3 separate regions of the Homo sapiens genome follow, and regions 1 and 3 are each linked to region 2. The links are contacts of gene promoters, found by promoter capture Hi-C in blood cells and fetal thymus (Javierre and others, 2016). All regions are on one chromosome and are shown on one strand. The core of a region is centred on a gene start or on the middle of the fragment in contact, and the rest is flanking DNA. Distances in the headings are between cores, read along the strand shown. Region 1 has its middle 3.6 kb from the start of SOX18. Region 2 holds the start of LIME1 (Lck interacting transmembrane adaptor 1). Region 3 overlaps PRPF6 (pre-mRNA processing factor 6).

Region 1 (4,573 bases), core at 1,340-3,839, 320 kb after region 2:
CCTCCCCAAAGCCCCACATCACAGTCTGTCTCGACGCCCATCGTCCCAGCATACGGGGCTGGGTCTCCCAGTCTGGTCTCCAGATCTCCCGTCCCTCCAGTTTGCCCCACGGGCCTAGCACCTCGTTCACAGACACTGAGCCAGTGCTGGCTAATGGGGGGCCCGTGGGGCACCAGGAGGTGCGGCCCCTGGCTTTTCTGGGGAGGCAGGCAGGGTTGTGGCCACAGGGATGGAGGGGCTCACAGGCCTCTGCCGGATGCTGCTAGTCCTCCTTTAATCTCAGTATGGGTGGCTGGACCCTTGGCCGAGTCTCAGTGTGGGTGGGCCTCCTGGGCAGCTGGCAGGAGGGTGCAGGGGGGGTGGGGAGCCGTGCGAAGACCCCAAAGGGCTACCACTTGGCGGAAGCTCTCTCTACTCACAACCTTAGGGTTGCAGTCAGGGGTCACCAGGGCCTGGCTCAGCCTGGGCAGTGGCTGGTCACTGCGGCCTGGGAAAGAGGTCCTCGGGGTCCTCTGCAGTAGCCCTCACACGTGGGGAAGGATTTGCAGTTCCCTGGGGGCCCTGCTTGGTCCTCTGCCACCCCCGAGAGCCCAGAGTCACTGGAGCTGCTCTAAACATAGTGGCAGGCAGTGTCCGGCATGACCTCATCGCCTCCACGTCCCCCACAACACCCACCAGCAGCCGCCTTGCCTGGCGCCAGCCAGTGACCCACCCTCTTGGCTGGGCTGTGGACTCAGGTGTCCGGCTGTCATGTCCTGTGAGTCGGGGCTGGGCGGGGAGCCTCCTGAGGTGCTCCTCTCCCTCTGCGTGGCAGGGAGGAGGCTGGCAGCCCTGGCCCAGTGTCCAGATGGGACAAAGTGGGGGTAGGGACCACAGCCAGGGTGGCGTGATCTGGAGCCGCAGGGCTGGGGGGACTTGCCAGGGCTGTAGAGGGGATGGTGTGGGTGTGGCCAGCTGTGCTGAGGGAGGGGCATCCGATGTGTGTCTGTGCATCTGTGTGTGGCCTGTGTCTGTCTGTCTGCCTGGGTGTGGGGTGAGGGGGACTCTAGTGCTGGAGGCTGCCCAGGGCCTTGAGAGCCAGGCAAGCTGGACGTTCCCAGGAAGAGATGAGGACCCATAATAGGTCCAGGACCAGGGGTCCTGCTCCGTGAAGTTTGGAGGGTCCCCAAGGCTTCTCTGGCCACTGAGCTTGGGCCCCAGCATTCTCCAAAAGAGGGCAGGCAGTTCATGAGTCTAGGGGCATTCCTCTGCCTCTGGAACCCCACCTCAGTCTGTCCTGGACTAGGTGGGCTATGGCCCACCCTTGGGAAGGAGCCTATCTGTAGCCCCCAAGCCCCAGTCAGAAAGGCAGAGTTTGGGGGCAAGCTTTCTCTACAAGGGTGGGGCTGGCCTGGGCACTGAGTGGACACTGTCCTCCTGCCTGCCACCTGCCCCTCTCCCTCAGCTTGGACAGGAACCCCGGCCTCTGAGTGAGGTCCGCAAAGGATGCTGGGTAGTCCCCCTCCGTGGCTCTGGGTGGGAGCTTGGCTTGGCGCGGCTCTGGGCCGGGATGGCAGGACCTCCCAGCCACTGCCTGGGCACAGACCTCCCAGGATCCCACCAGCCCAGCCCCTGCGGCTGCAAGAGCAGCGAGGCTGGGACCAATTACCGAGTCCCGCAGGGCCTGGACCCTCCTGCTCCTCAAGGGTGAAGGTGGGGGTTCCTGTTGGATGCAGTTTCAGGTGGAGGGGGCTCTCTGGCCTCCCGAACCTCGGCTCTCTCCAGTTCAGATCCTACCTTCTGCCCACAGCTGAACACCTCTTCCTACAGGGAGCCCCCGACCTCCCAGCCACTGTCCTCCAGAGGCCATAGCATCTTGGTCTCCTTCTGTCTGCTGCCTCGGTAGGCTTCCTTTGGGACCCGTGGAGGCATGTCTGACTCCTCAGGAGCTCTGTATTTAGTGGGCCTTGTCCTGGGGTGGCGGCTCCAGGCCTAGTGAGACATGGCAGAGGCCAGGGCAGGGAGAATGTGAAGCTGGGGCGAGGGTCTGTGACGAGGCCGCCTGACGCCTCAGCACCAGGTGGACACAGTTGTGTGCATGTCCCTCTTGGCCAATGACAGGTCCGGTTCAGGTGGCCCTTGCCCAGGGACAGAGGCTTCTCCTGGCTCCGTGCCTTCCAGCTCTCAGTCCTGGTGTGCACAGCGTCACCGGGCTTCCGATAGCTGCCGGCCTCAACTCTGGGAGAGGGCAGGTGGGGCGGCAGGAGGTGCCTGTGCTTTCCTAGGCATGAGCAGGCATGAGAGGTGCACATGCTCCTGCTCACCTGGGCGGCGCCTCTCAACTGTTAGGTGTGGGGTTAGGGTTCACCTGACGATTTGCCGCAGTCCAGCGGACCCGAGAGTTGCATGCAGAGCTGGGGTTGCGGTGCGAGTGGGGAAGGGTCTGAAGGTGTGGGTGCAGGGGGCTGTGCTGGGGCCTGCAGGCTGGGGTGTGCGGTGTGAGTGGGGTGCTTTTGTAGTCTAAGGGGTGATGTGCCAGTCGTCGTGTGGTGTCAGGTGTCAGTCGTCGTGTGGTGTCAGGGTCTCTTCTACTCGGTGCTAAGGGCCAGCAGGACCGAGAGGGGTAGGGGCTTCTCTGGGTCGAGGGCCACAGGGGGCTGGTGGGGGTGGGAGTGCTGAATGCACAGGGTGATGCTGGGCTTCGGGTAGCAGATGTGCTGTGGACAGTCGGGGTCGGGTCATCTGCGGCGAGCGGGGCTTCTGTAGGTGCTCCCAGGGCCCTGGTGATGTGGAAGCTGTTCTCAAATTCTGGGGTGTTGTGCTGTGGTGGGCATGTACCTAGGGTGTTATCAAGGGCTGTGCCCACTTTTAGGGGCACTGGGCAAGAGTCGGGGTGTCAGAGCAGCTGCTTGAGCTCCGTGGGGGCCATTGTGTGGCCCTTGGGGTGTCCTGCCCTGGGGGCGGCTGCAGGGCCGCTTGTGTCCCTGGGTGTTGCTGCCTGCTGTGCGGCCTTCCCAGTGATGTTTGTGTGTGTGTGTGTGTTGGGGGGGTTCCATGGGAAGCAGGCTGGGGGGCTGGGCTGCTCCGGGTTTCTGAGGCAACAGCAGGGAGGGGCCAGGAAACTGCAGCTCAGGAAGGAAGGCCGGCCTTGCAGGAGGGGGCCTGGGGCCAGCTTGGGCTGAGCAGGCGCCAGACATTCTGTGCTGCGGCCCCGGCCCCCACTGGCTGGGAGCTCCTGCCCAAGTTCCGCTGGCCCCACCCTTGTCTCCACCTCCATGCTTGTATGGCTGCCTTTATTCAGACCGTGGTGACTTGGGCTTGGGTCTGTGGGTGACCTGGTCCTGTGCTTATGTGAGCCCCAGTCCATTTGTGGCTCTGTAGAGGCCCAGATGGGGCTCTCAGTGTACCCTGCACCGTGGGGCATGTGTTAGCACACTCCGGTCCCCAGGGTCCCTGGAGGGCAGTGTCCACTCTGACTACCCTGTCCTGGGCTGGCCCAGCCTCCTTCTCCCCTGCCAGGCTGGTAAGTCGGGAGAGGGAGAACATCCTCAGGGGTCATCTGTCTCCCAGCCACGGAGGGGCACTGCAGGGCCGGATGCCTGAAGCTGTGTGTTTCTTTTTGTTGCTTGTCCTGGCATTGGTGACAGCCAGCTGGGGCTGCCACATAGGCTGGAGGGGGCAGGCCTGTGTTCTGGGGGCTCATCCACCCCTTCTTGCTCAGGGACAGGCAACATCTATCCATCCATTTGTTATTGAGCACCTGTTGTGTAGTAGACCCTGTTTTAGGGGTTAGGAATTTGGCAGAGAACAAAACAGACAGGTCCCTGCCTGTGGGAAGCTTCCATTATGGTGAGAAGAGACAGACAATCAACAAATCCACAAACAGGTGTGGTGACTCATGCCTGTAATCCCAGCACTTTGGGAGGCTAAGGTGGGCGGATCACCTGAGGTCAGGAGTTCGAGACCAGCTTGGCCAATATAGTGAAACCCCTGCCTCTACTTAAAAAAAAAAAAAAAAAATACAAAAATTAGCCAGGCGTGGTGGCGCATGTCTGTAATCCTAGCTACCCTGGAGGCTGAGGCATGAGAATCGCTTGAACCCAGGAGGCAGAGGTTGCAGTGAGCCAAGATCGCACCACTGCACTCCAGCCTGGGTGACAGAGTGAGACTCTGTTTCCAGACAAAAGCAAAAACAAAAAACAAAAATTAGCTGGGCGTGGTGGCACATGCTTGTAATCCCAGGTAGTAGGGAGGCTAAGGCACACGAATTGCTTGAGCCCGGGAGGTGGAGGTTGCAGTGAGCCGAGATCGCACCACTGCACTCCAGCCTGGGCGACAGAGGAAGACTGTTTCAAAAAACAAAAACGAAACAAAACAAACCTAACCAAAAACAAATCCACAAACAAGCCAGAACTTGGGGTGCCAGGTGTAGGGAGGGGGGCTGTGTCAGGGCCACACATGGCTTTTGCCCTTGGGGGTTCATCAGGTATAGGGAGGGGCTGTGTCAGGGCCACACGTGGCTTTTGCCCTTGGGGGTTCATGGGAGGAGTCTTTTCACAGAGGGAGGAGCATGTGCCAAGGCCCTGGGGCAGGG
Region 2 (3,668 bases), core at 72-2,571:
GAATGTGTTTGACTTCCTCAATGAAAAGCTGCAAGGTCAGGCTCCTGGGGCCCTAGAAGCCGGGGCGGCCCCAGCGGGGAGGAGGAGCAAGGACATGTACCATGCCAGCAAGAGTGCCAAGCGGGCCCTGAGCCTGCGGCTCTTCCAGACTGAGGAGAAGATCGAGCGAACCCAGCGGGACATCAGGAGCATCCAGGAGGCTCTCGCCCGCAACGCTGGCCGGTACGTGTGGGGCCCAGCTCAGGGCAAAGGGCGACCCAGGGTGGCCCTGCCCCCGGGATACATGCTGGAGGTCACCTGACCCAAGCATAGCGGGCTGAGTCCAGGAGGGGTCTGCATGTTGGAGGACGGGCAGCGGGCACACAGGCAGTGGGTACGGCAGACTGGGGTTGGTGGCATGGCCCAGGACCCCACGCTGACTAGTGAGCCCCTCCGCAGGCATAGCGTGGCGTCAGCCCAGCTGCAGGAGAAGCTGGCAGGAGCCCAGCGCCAGCTGGGGCAGCTCCGGGCTCAGGAAGCCGGCCTGCAGCAGGAGCAGAGGAAGGCAGACACCCACAAGAAGATGACTGAGTTCTAGAGACCCCACAAGCACTATGGACGAAGCGTGGGACCCCAGCACGGGCTGCCCTCAGGAAGACCAGTGTTGCCCGAGGAGGGGCCGGCCTGCTGGCCTGGGGCGTGCAGACACTGCTGAGTGGAGACAGAGCTGCGGGGTCCCATCTGGACACTTACTTGCCCACCTGCCAGTGTCTTGGGCATTTCCTTGGCAAGGACATTAAAGTGATTTCATCACAGTGTCATTCAGTGGAGATCAGCTGGCTGCAGGGTCTCTGGGGAGAGAAGGGTCTGTGCAGGGCTGTGGTGAGAGACGGGCTGGGCTGGAGGGGCCTAGGAGGCCGGCATTCTCCCTTCTTACCCTTCTCTGACCAAGGCAGATCGGAGGCCAGGGTGCCCGCCAGGCTGCCTGACACCCACAGATGGGTGGAGCTCAGTGCTGCTCCAGCGGGCGAGACGGGCGGGAGAGGACTGTGGCCCACCACGTGGGGCACTCTTGGTGAGGCAGGCGGACCTGGCCCTGTGGGTTTGGGGGTTCTGTGCCAGCTCTGCTCACGTCTTCGTGTGTGGAGGGGTTGTGAGTTAGGCTGTCAGAACAGTGCGGGCTAGAGGCGCACACGTTTCATCTAGGCTTCGGGCGGGGCGCAGCAGGTGGGTGAGGCTGCGGTGGTGGCTGCTGCCCAGGGTGGGAGGCTCAGGGGAGGCGCTTGGCGACAGGAGCAGGAAGTGATGAGGTGGGGAGCTCAGCCGAGGGCTGCACAAAGACCTTCCTGGCCTGCCCCAGACAGAGCTGAGGACCCCTGGCCGTGGGCTTGGTAAGTGCCCTCCTGGGGGGCAGCTGGGGTCTGGGAGGCCTTGGGATGTGGCTGCAGCTGGGTCAGTCAGCCAGGCTGAAGCCCACTCCCTGGGTCTGAGCAGACTGGCCCCAAACTCCAGAGACCACCCCTCACCCCCCAGCTTCTGTCTCTGCTGCTGGACTGTGCTGTTTGTAAGGCATCCCCCACCCCGAGAAGTTCTGCTAAGATCCCCAAGAAGGGGACAGATCCTCTCTGGCAGAGACACTGGCAGACAAGAAGAGCCAGAGAGAAGTGGGGTGGGGGCATCAGCACCCCCAGCAGCTGCTGCTGCCTGCTGACCCAGCCTCCAGCTCCTCCGGGTGCAGGGTCCCTCCTGCTGACCAGCCTCCAGCTCTTCCCAGTTCTGGGCTCCGCAGCGAGCGGCTTGGGGGCACTACCTGACACAGGAGACCATGTCTGGGCAGAGGGTGGCTGCAGGTGGAGTCTGTGGCCTGTGGCGCACACCCAGGGGCTCCCCCGATGCTGGTTACTATCTGGGCTATGGTGGCCACAGCTGTCTTGCCCCTCCTCACGGCCGTGCTGGGTGTTACCGTGGTCACCCGCAGGGACACGGAGGGGCCAGGCAGAGCAGCCCTAGTTCACCTCACCGGGAGCCCCCGCCAGAAGGTGGGCACCTCTGGGAGGGAGGGACTGCCAGGCCTTGGGGCTTCCTGTGCTGAGTCAGAGCTGGAACGGGAGACGCAGGAGCCCCGCAGCCGCGGGAGGTGCAGATTTGGGGCTGCCAGGTGGCGCCAGGTCCCCTTGGCCAGCCCCCAGCGCCCCTTTCTTCTGTCCCCAGGGCCTCGGCTTCACAGGATGGGGCTGCCAGTGTCCTGGGCCCCTCCTGCCCTCTGGGTTCTAGGGTGCTGCGCCCTGCTCCTCTCGCTGTGGGCGCTGTGCACAGCCTGCCGCAGGTAGGTCCCTCAGCCGCGTTCTGTCTGGGGCCTCGCTGCGGCTGCCATTCACAGCCCAGCGCGGGAAGGGGCTGGAGGCAGGTCCGCGCACCCAGCTCGGCACGCGCGCCTGCACCGGGCCTTGGACCCGAGGCTGACGACCCCGCCCCCCGCCCCCCACCTCTACCCCCAAGGCCCGAGGACGCTGTAGCCCCCAGGAAGAGGGCGCGGAGGCAGCGGGCGAGGCTGCAGGGCAGTGCGACGGCGGCGGAAGCGGTGAGTGCCAGGCTGTCCCGGGGACCAGGGTGGGGTCCGCAGGGCACCGACCAGCCTTCCTCGCCCCCAGTCCCTACTGAGGCGGACCCACCTCTGCTCCCTCAGCAAGTCGGACACCAGACTGCACGAGCTGCACCGGGGCCCGCGCAGCAGCAGGGGTGAGCAGAGGGCGGGGCGGGGGCGGCCGGGCGGGGCTTACTGTGCAGCGCGTGCCAACCCCTGGGCCAGACCCGCTCCTGCCCCCTGCCCGGAGTGAACTCTGCCCTGACCCCACCCCCAGCCCTGCGGCCTGCCAGCATGGATCTCCTGCGCCCACACTGGCTGGAGGTGTCCAGGGACATCACCGGACCGCAGGCAGCCCCCTCTGCCTTCCCACACCAGGAGCTGCCCCGGGCTCTGCCGGCAGCTGCAGCCACCGCAGGGTGCGCTGGCCTCGAGGCCACCTATTCCAACGTGGGGCTGGCGGCCCTTCCCGGGGTCAGCCTGGCGGCCAGCCCTGTGGTGGCCGAGTATGCCCGCGTCCAGAAGCGCAAAGGGACCCATCGCAGTCCCCAAGAGCCACAGCAGGGGAAGACTGAGGTGACCCCGGCCGCTCAGGTAACGTGGGCCAGGGTAGGGCGCTGTGGGTGGGGCCGGCAGATCCTCAGCAGGTTGGATGGTGCTGACCCCTCCTCGGGTTGGCTTCCTGTCTCCAGGTGGACGTCCTGTACTCCAGGGTCTGCAAGCCTAAAAGGAGGGACCCAGGACCCACCACAGACCCGCTGGACCCCAAGGGCCAGGGAGCGATTCTGGCCCTGGCGGGTGACCTGGCCTACCAGACCCTCCCGCTCAGGGCCCTGGATGTGGACAGCGGCCCCCTGGAAAACGTGTATGAGAGCATCCGGGAGCTGGGGGACCCTGCTGGCAGGAGCAGCACGTGCGGGGCTGGGACGCCCCCTGCTTCCAGCTGCCCCAGCCTAGGGAGGGGCTGGAGACCCCTCCCTGCCTCCCTGCCCTGAACACTCAAGGACCTGTGCTCCTTCCTCCAGAGTGAGGCCCGTCCCCCGCCCCGCCCCGCCTCACAGCTGACAGCGCCAGTCCCAGGTCCCCGGGCTGCCAGCCCGTGAGG
Region 3 (4,459 bases), core at 903-3,402, 270 kb after region 2:
TCTGTCGCCCAGCCTGGAGTGCAGTGGCACGACCTCGGCTCTCTGCAAGCTCCGCCTCCCAGGTTCACGCCATTCTCCTGCCTCAGCCCCCCAAGTAGCTGGGACTACAGGCGCCCGCCACCAGGCCTGGCTAATTTTTTTTTGTATTTTTATTAGAGATGGGGTTTCACCATGTTAGCCAGGATGGTCTTGATCTCCTGACCTCATGATCCACCCGCCTCGGCCTCTCAAAGTGCTGGGATTACAGGCGTGAGCCACCGCGCCCGGCCAGAGACAGCGTCTTATAATGAGGTGGCCAGGAACAGAAAGTTAGCACCTGTCTGGGTTTGTAGAAATCAGTTTATCTTTTTTCAGCTAGGAAGAAATAGTTCTTTGATGAAGAGCCCATGAAAGTCTGGGTAATTAGTATTGTTTACTTAGAAAAGCTCTATTGAATTCTTCCTGCCACAGTTTGATGAATGATCATGAATGTCTTTGTGGCCACTCCCTGCTCACCACCAGATTGTCTGGGTTCATTTCCAGTTGGTTTGGATTTGGAGATGGGAGTATGCTGTTGGAGGCGGGGGCCTTCGGGGAGTGTTGAGGGACTGTGTTTCCACGGCTGTTCTCTCAGGGAGTGGCCTCCTGGCTGTGCTCTCTCAGGCAGAGAAGCTGGGCTAAGGTGGAATGAACCCAGGATCTCCAGGATGGCCTTTGCCGCTGCCCTAATACTGGTCCTGGCCTGCCCTTTCCCAAGAGTGTTTCCAAAAACTGTATTCTTTTCCTGGGGTGAAGCCCAGCACTGCTTCATTTGGTTATTAGCAAACACTTACACGTTGCTTGAAGGGTCTGGTTTTTGAAATTAAGATGACAGCTACTTCCACTGGTGACTTAGGACACCTGCCAGCCAGGGAGCCTGGCAGTGCATGGTCTCTGTGAGCTCTGGGTCGCTGTTGGGCTGAGCTGACACCTTAGTCCTTTGTTGGGAGAATGGGCGTTTTGGGTGCTGATCTTGAGACCTGAGGAGGCTGAGTAACCTTAGGCATGGTGCTTGGCCTCTGAGCTTCCATGTCTTCCTCTGTAAAAGGGAAGAGGGCTTTCAGGATTGGGGAGGGTGCAGCATGTGAGCTTCCTGGCCAGGGTGGGGTGTCCCACGTGCAGAGTCCCCTGGGGAGGCCCGACTGGCAGCTCCCCTACAATAATGCACTCACATGCTGTGTACTCCGCTAGTTAATGCAGATGTGTGGAAGTGGAGTTATTTTACACTAACGCCATATGCTCTGGCCTGTGAAGCGTGGCATCCTTCAGTGGCCGTCGCCAGCGTGTCCCTCTGGGGGCACAGGAATGGCACAGTTCAGGTTGAGGGTCTTCCCTGCAGTCACGTGACCCCCGGAGAGCATGTTGGCCTCTGCACGGTCACGTCTTCATGGCTGTGTCTAGCATTCAGAATACTCTTCTGTTCTAGGCCAACTTCAGGGGTGTGTGCTTCCTCCACTTCTGCTCATAAAGTCACACTCCTTGAAGGCCATTGTATCATGGTGTGCCATGTGGCTTCCGAAAGCACCTGGGGAAGGTGACCTTGTTGGTTTTAGTGCCATGCCTGTGGGCTGCTGATGAGATGCCATGGAGATATGTCAGCTCTCTCCCAAAACTTGAAGACACAGAGTCCTGGGAGTCGTAAGTTAATGACTCCATAAATTGAGTCCCGCATGAATATTCTGTTCTTTAGAGACGCGAAGTTCATCTCCACCAATGTACAAAGTATTAAGGGAAGTAGTTCATATTTAGACAAATAGAGCACTCATCTCCCACGCAGTCGAGGTGAGAGCGCACAGGAAAAACAACTGGGTCGTTCTGTGTCTTCTCTCTATGCCTAGTCGCCTGGTTGGAGGTTAGGACTTTCCTTCTTTACTGCTGTGCCCTCTGCTGTCACCCTGCTTGGTCAGGGTTCTTGACCTGGATGAGTAACCCAAATCTTTTTTTTGTTTTAGACAGAGCCTCGTCCTATTGCCCAGGCTGGAGAGCAGTGTTGCAATCAGCTCACTGCAGCCTCAACCTCCTGGGCTGTAGTGATCCTCCTGCTTCTGGCTCTTGAGTAGCTGGGACCATAGGTACATACTACCATGCCTAAATAATTTTTATTTTGAGACAGGATCTTGCTCTGTTGCCTAGGCTGGAGTGCAGTGGCATGATCATGGGTCACTGAAGCCTCAACCTCCCAGACTCAAACTATCCTCCAGTCTCAGCTTCCTGAATAGCTGGGACTCCAGGGACATACCACCATGCCTGGCTGAGTTTTTAATTTTTCAAAGAGACGAGGTCTCCCTGTGTCATCCAGGCTGGTTTTAAACTCCTGGGCTCAAGTGATCCTCCCACCTCAGTCTCCCAAAATGCTGGGACTGCAGATGGGGGCCACTGTGCTCAGCCAGGACCCATATCTTTATCCCCAAAGGGTCTGACTTGTTGGTAGTTTTGCTTTTTTGGTGGCTGTAGTTCCCATTAACTTTTACTGGTAAAAGCAGAAATACTAAACTGTTTTTAGGACTGGCCTCTAGATAGTCTCCCACAGTGGGTGGCAGCAACTCAGTCTCGCTTTGGGAGTCAGGGTTAGCCTCTCCAGCCAGGGCTGGTACATGAGGAGGCCAGAGGGAGCTGTGGTCTGCACCCTGGTTGGCACATACTCCCTTTGGAGTAGCTCGTAGCTTGCTCTTTTTTTTTTTTTTTTTTGAGACTGAGTCTTGCTCTGTTGCCCAGGCTAGAGTGCAGTGGCGCAATCTCGGCTCACTGCAACCTCCGCCTCCTGGGTTCAAGGAATTCTCTTGCCTCAGCCTCCCAAGTAGATGGGATTACAGGCACCTGCCACCACACCCGACTAATTTTTGTATTTTTAATAGAGATGGGGTTTGGTTTCACTGTGTTGGCCAGGCTGGTCTCGAACTCCTGACCTCATGATCCACCCGCTTCAGCTTCCCAAAGTGCTGGGATTACAAATGTGAGCCACCACACCCGGCCTTTGGACCAGCTCTCTTGACAGGAGGGTCCAAGGAGGCGGAGACGGGACTCTTGGCAGTGGAGACGGGACTTGTGGCAGCGGAGATGGGACTTGAGCCATTCAGACATCACTGTTTATTCCTAGACCCGTGTGTTCTGGCTGTGAGATCCAGCCGGGATTGGTGTCTATTCACAGCATTTGTGGCATCCTACTGGGCTGCCAGGCCATGGCTCTGAGTGATGGGCACATGGTAAGACCATGTTCTGCCTGAATCGGTGAATTCATATAGCTTCGTCTTCTGGCCGTCTTTCAGTTGGTCAAGTGGACATCCAGATAATAAGGCCAGGGGTGTCAGTGCCAGTGTGCTGTGCAGAACCATGCGTAAACCACAGCAGACTTTTGTCTTCTCAGTCCCTTGACCCTAAGGGACTCCCCAGAGGTTGTCAGTGTGGGCTGAGGGAGGAAAGCGGTTGAGCAGCCACCAGTGCAGGAGGCATCTGCCCCATAGCTTAGGCAGCTGTGCTGCACCTGCCTTCCTTCCACACCATCTCCTGGGTGCCATTTCCACCCTATGAGGCCACTGCTGCATCTGCCCAACCTTGTGGCTTGGTCTGTCAGTAACACCTGGAGTGGGCAGCAGGTTGCTCAGTCATTTTATGTCCCTTAGCTGAGTGTTCATTCCCTGCCAGGGCCTCACAGCCAGCCTGGGGCTGTTTCTCAGCAGGAGAGCAGGTACCTGCAGGAGAGCTAGCTCACTTGCCCTCTCCCCTCCCCGCCTCCCCTCCCCTCTGCCTCCCGTCCCCTCTTCCCCTCCCCGCCTCCGCTTCCCTCCCCGCCTCCCCTCCCCTGCCCTGCCCTTTTCCTCTTTTTTTTTTTTTTGAGACTGAGTCTCCCTCTTTTGCCTAGGCTGGAGCTGGAGTTCAGTGGTGCAGTTTTGGCTCACTGCAACCTCCACCTCCTGGGCTCAAGCGATTCTCCCACCTCTGCCTCCCAGCTAGCTGGAACCACAAGTACATGCCACCACGCCCAGCTAATTTTTGTATTTTTTGTAGAGACAGGGTTTCGCCATGTTGTCCAGGCTAGTCTCGAATTCCTGGGCTCAAGCGATCCTCCCACCTCAGCCTCCCAAAATGCTGGGATTATAGGTGTGAACCACCACAATCAGCTGCCTGGCCTAATTTCTTTTTCTTTTTTTTGAGTTGGAGTCTCTCTCTGTCACCCAGGCTAGAGTGCAGTGTCACAGTCTCAGCTTATTGCACCTGCGCCTTCTGGGTTCAAGCGATTCTCCTGCCTCAGCCTCCCCAGTAGCTGGGATTACAGGTGCATGCCACCATACCTGGCTAATTTTTGTATTTTTAGTAGAGACAAGGTTTCACTGTGTTGGCCACGCTGGTCTCGAACTCCTGACCTCAGGTGATCTGCCCACTTCGACCTCCCAAAGTGCTGGGATTACAGGCGTGAGCTACGGGCTGTACCTGGCCCGGCCTA

The links. Contacts are between HindIII fragments. The CHiCAGO score rates a contact against its expected background, and 5 or more counts as called.
Region 1: a fragment that was not itself captured here is called in contact with the fragment with the promoter of LIME1 in region 2 in 1 of 17 cell types (naive CD8 T cells); the score reaches 5.4 in naive CD8 T cells.
Region 3: a fragment that was not itself captured here is called in contact with the fragment with the promoter of LIME1 in region 2 in 6 of 17 cell types (M2 macrophages, naive CD4 T cells, activated CD4 T cells and 3 more); the score reaches 6.1 in M2 macrophages.

Annotation. Positions count from the first base shown.
Region 1 is chr20:64,050,983-64,055,555 of GRCh38, forward strand. No RefSeq gene overlaps it. Among named protein-coding and RNA genes, the nearest start is that of SOX18, 3.6 kb to the left of the region's middle. RefSeq lists enhancers at 1,958-2,647, 4,028-4,573. The HindIII fragment of the contact is 2,452 bases long and covers 1,364-3,815 here.
Region 2 is chr20:63,735,343-63,739,010 of GRCh38, forward strand. It overlaps LIME1 (Lck interacting transmembrane adaptor 1), which reads left to right and starts at 1,322. Exons shown (of 6, transcript NM_017806.4): 1 at 1,322-1,370; 2 at 2,191-2,305; 3 at 2,479-2,560; 4 at 2,631-2,718; 5 at 2,841-3,157; 6 at 3,256-3,668. The coding sequence starts at 2,208. The coding sequence ends at 3,558. It overlaps ZGPAT (zinc finger CCCH-type and G-patch domain containing), which reads left to right. Exons shown (of 7, transcript NM_181485.3): 6 at 1-222; 7 at 439-800. The coding sequence ends at 577. RefSeq lists enhancers at 748-927, 1,507-2,423, 2,623-3,217 and silencers at 2,358-2,577, 2,648-2,797, 2,878-2,937. The HindIII fragment of the contact is 14,127 bases long and covers 1-3,668 here.
Region 3 is chr20:64,003,629-64,008,087 of GRCh38, forward strand. All of the region lies in intron 9 of PRPF6 (pre-mRNA processing factor 6), which reads left to right. Among named protein-coding and RNA genes, the nearest start is that of PRPF6, 25 kb to the left of the region's middle. RefSeq lists a silencer at 1,466-1,638. The HindIII fragment of the contact is 5,259 bases long and covers 1-4,459 here.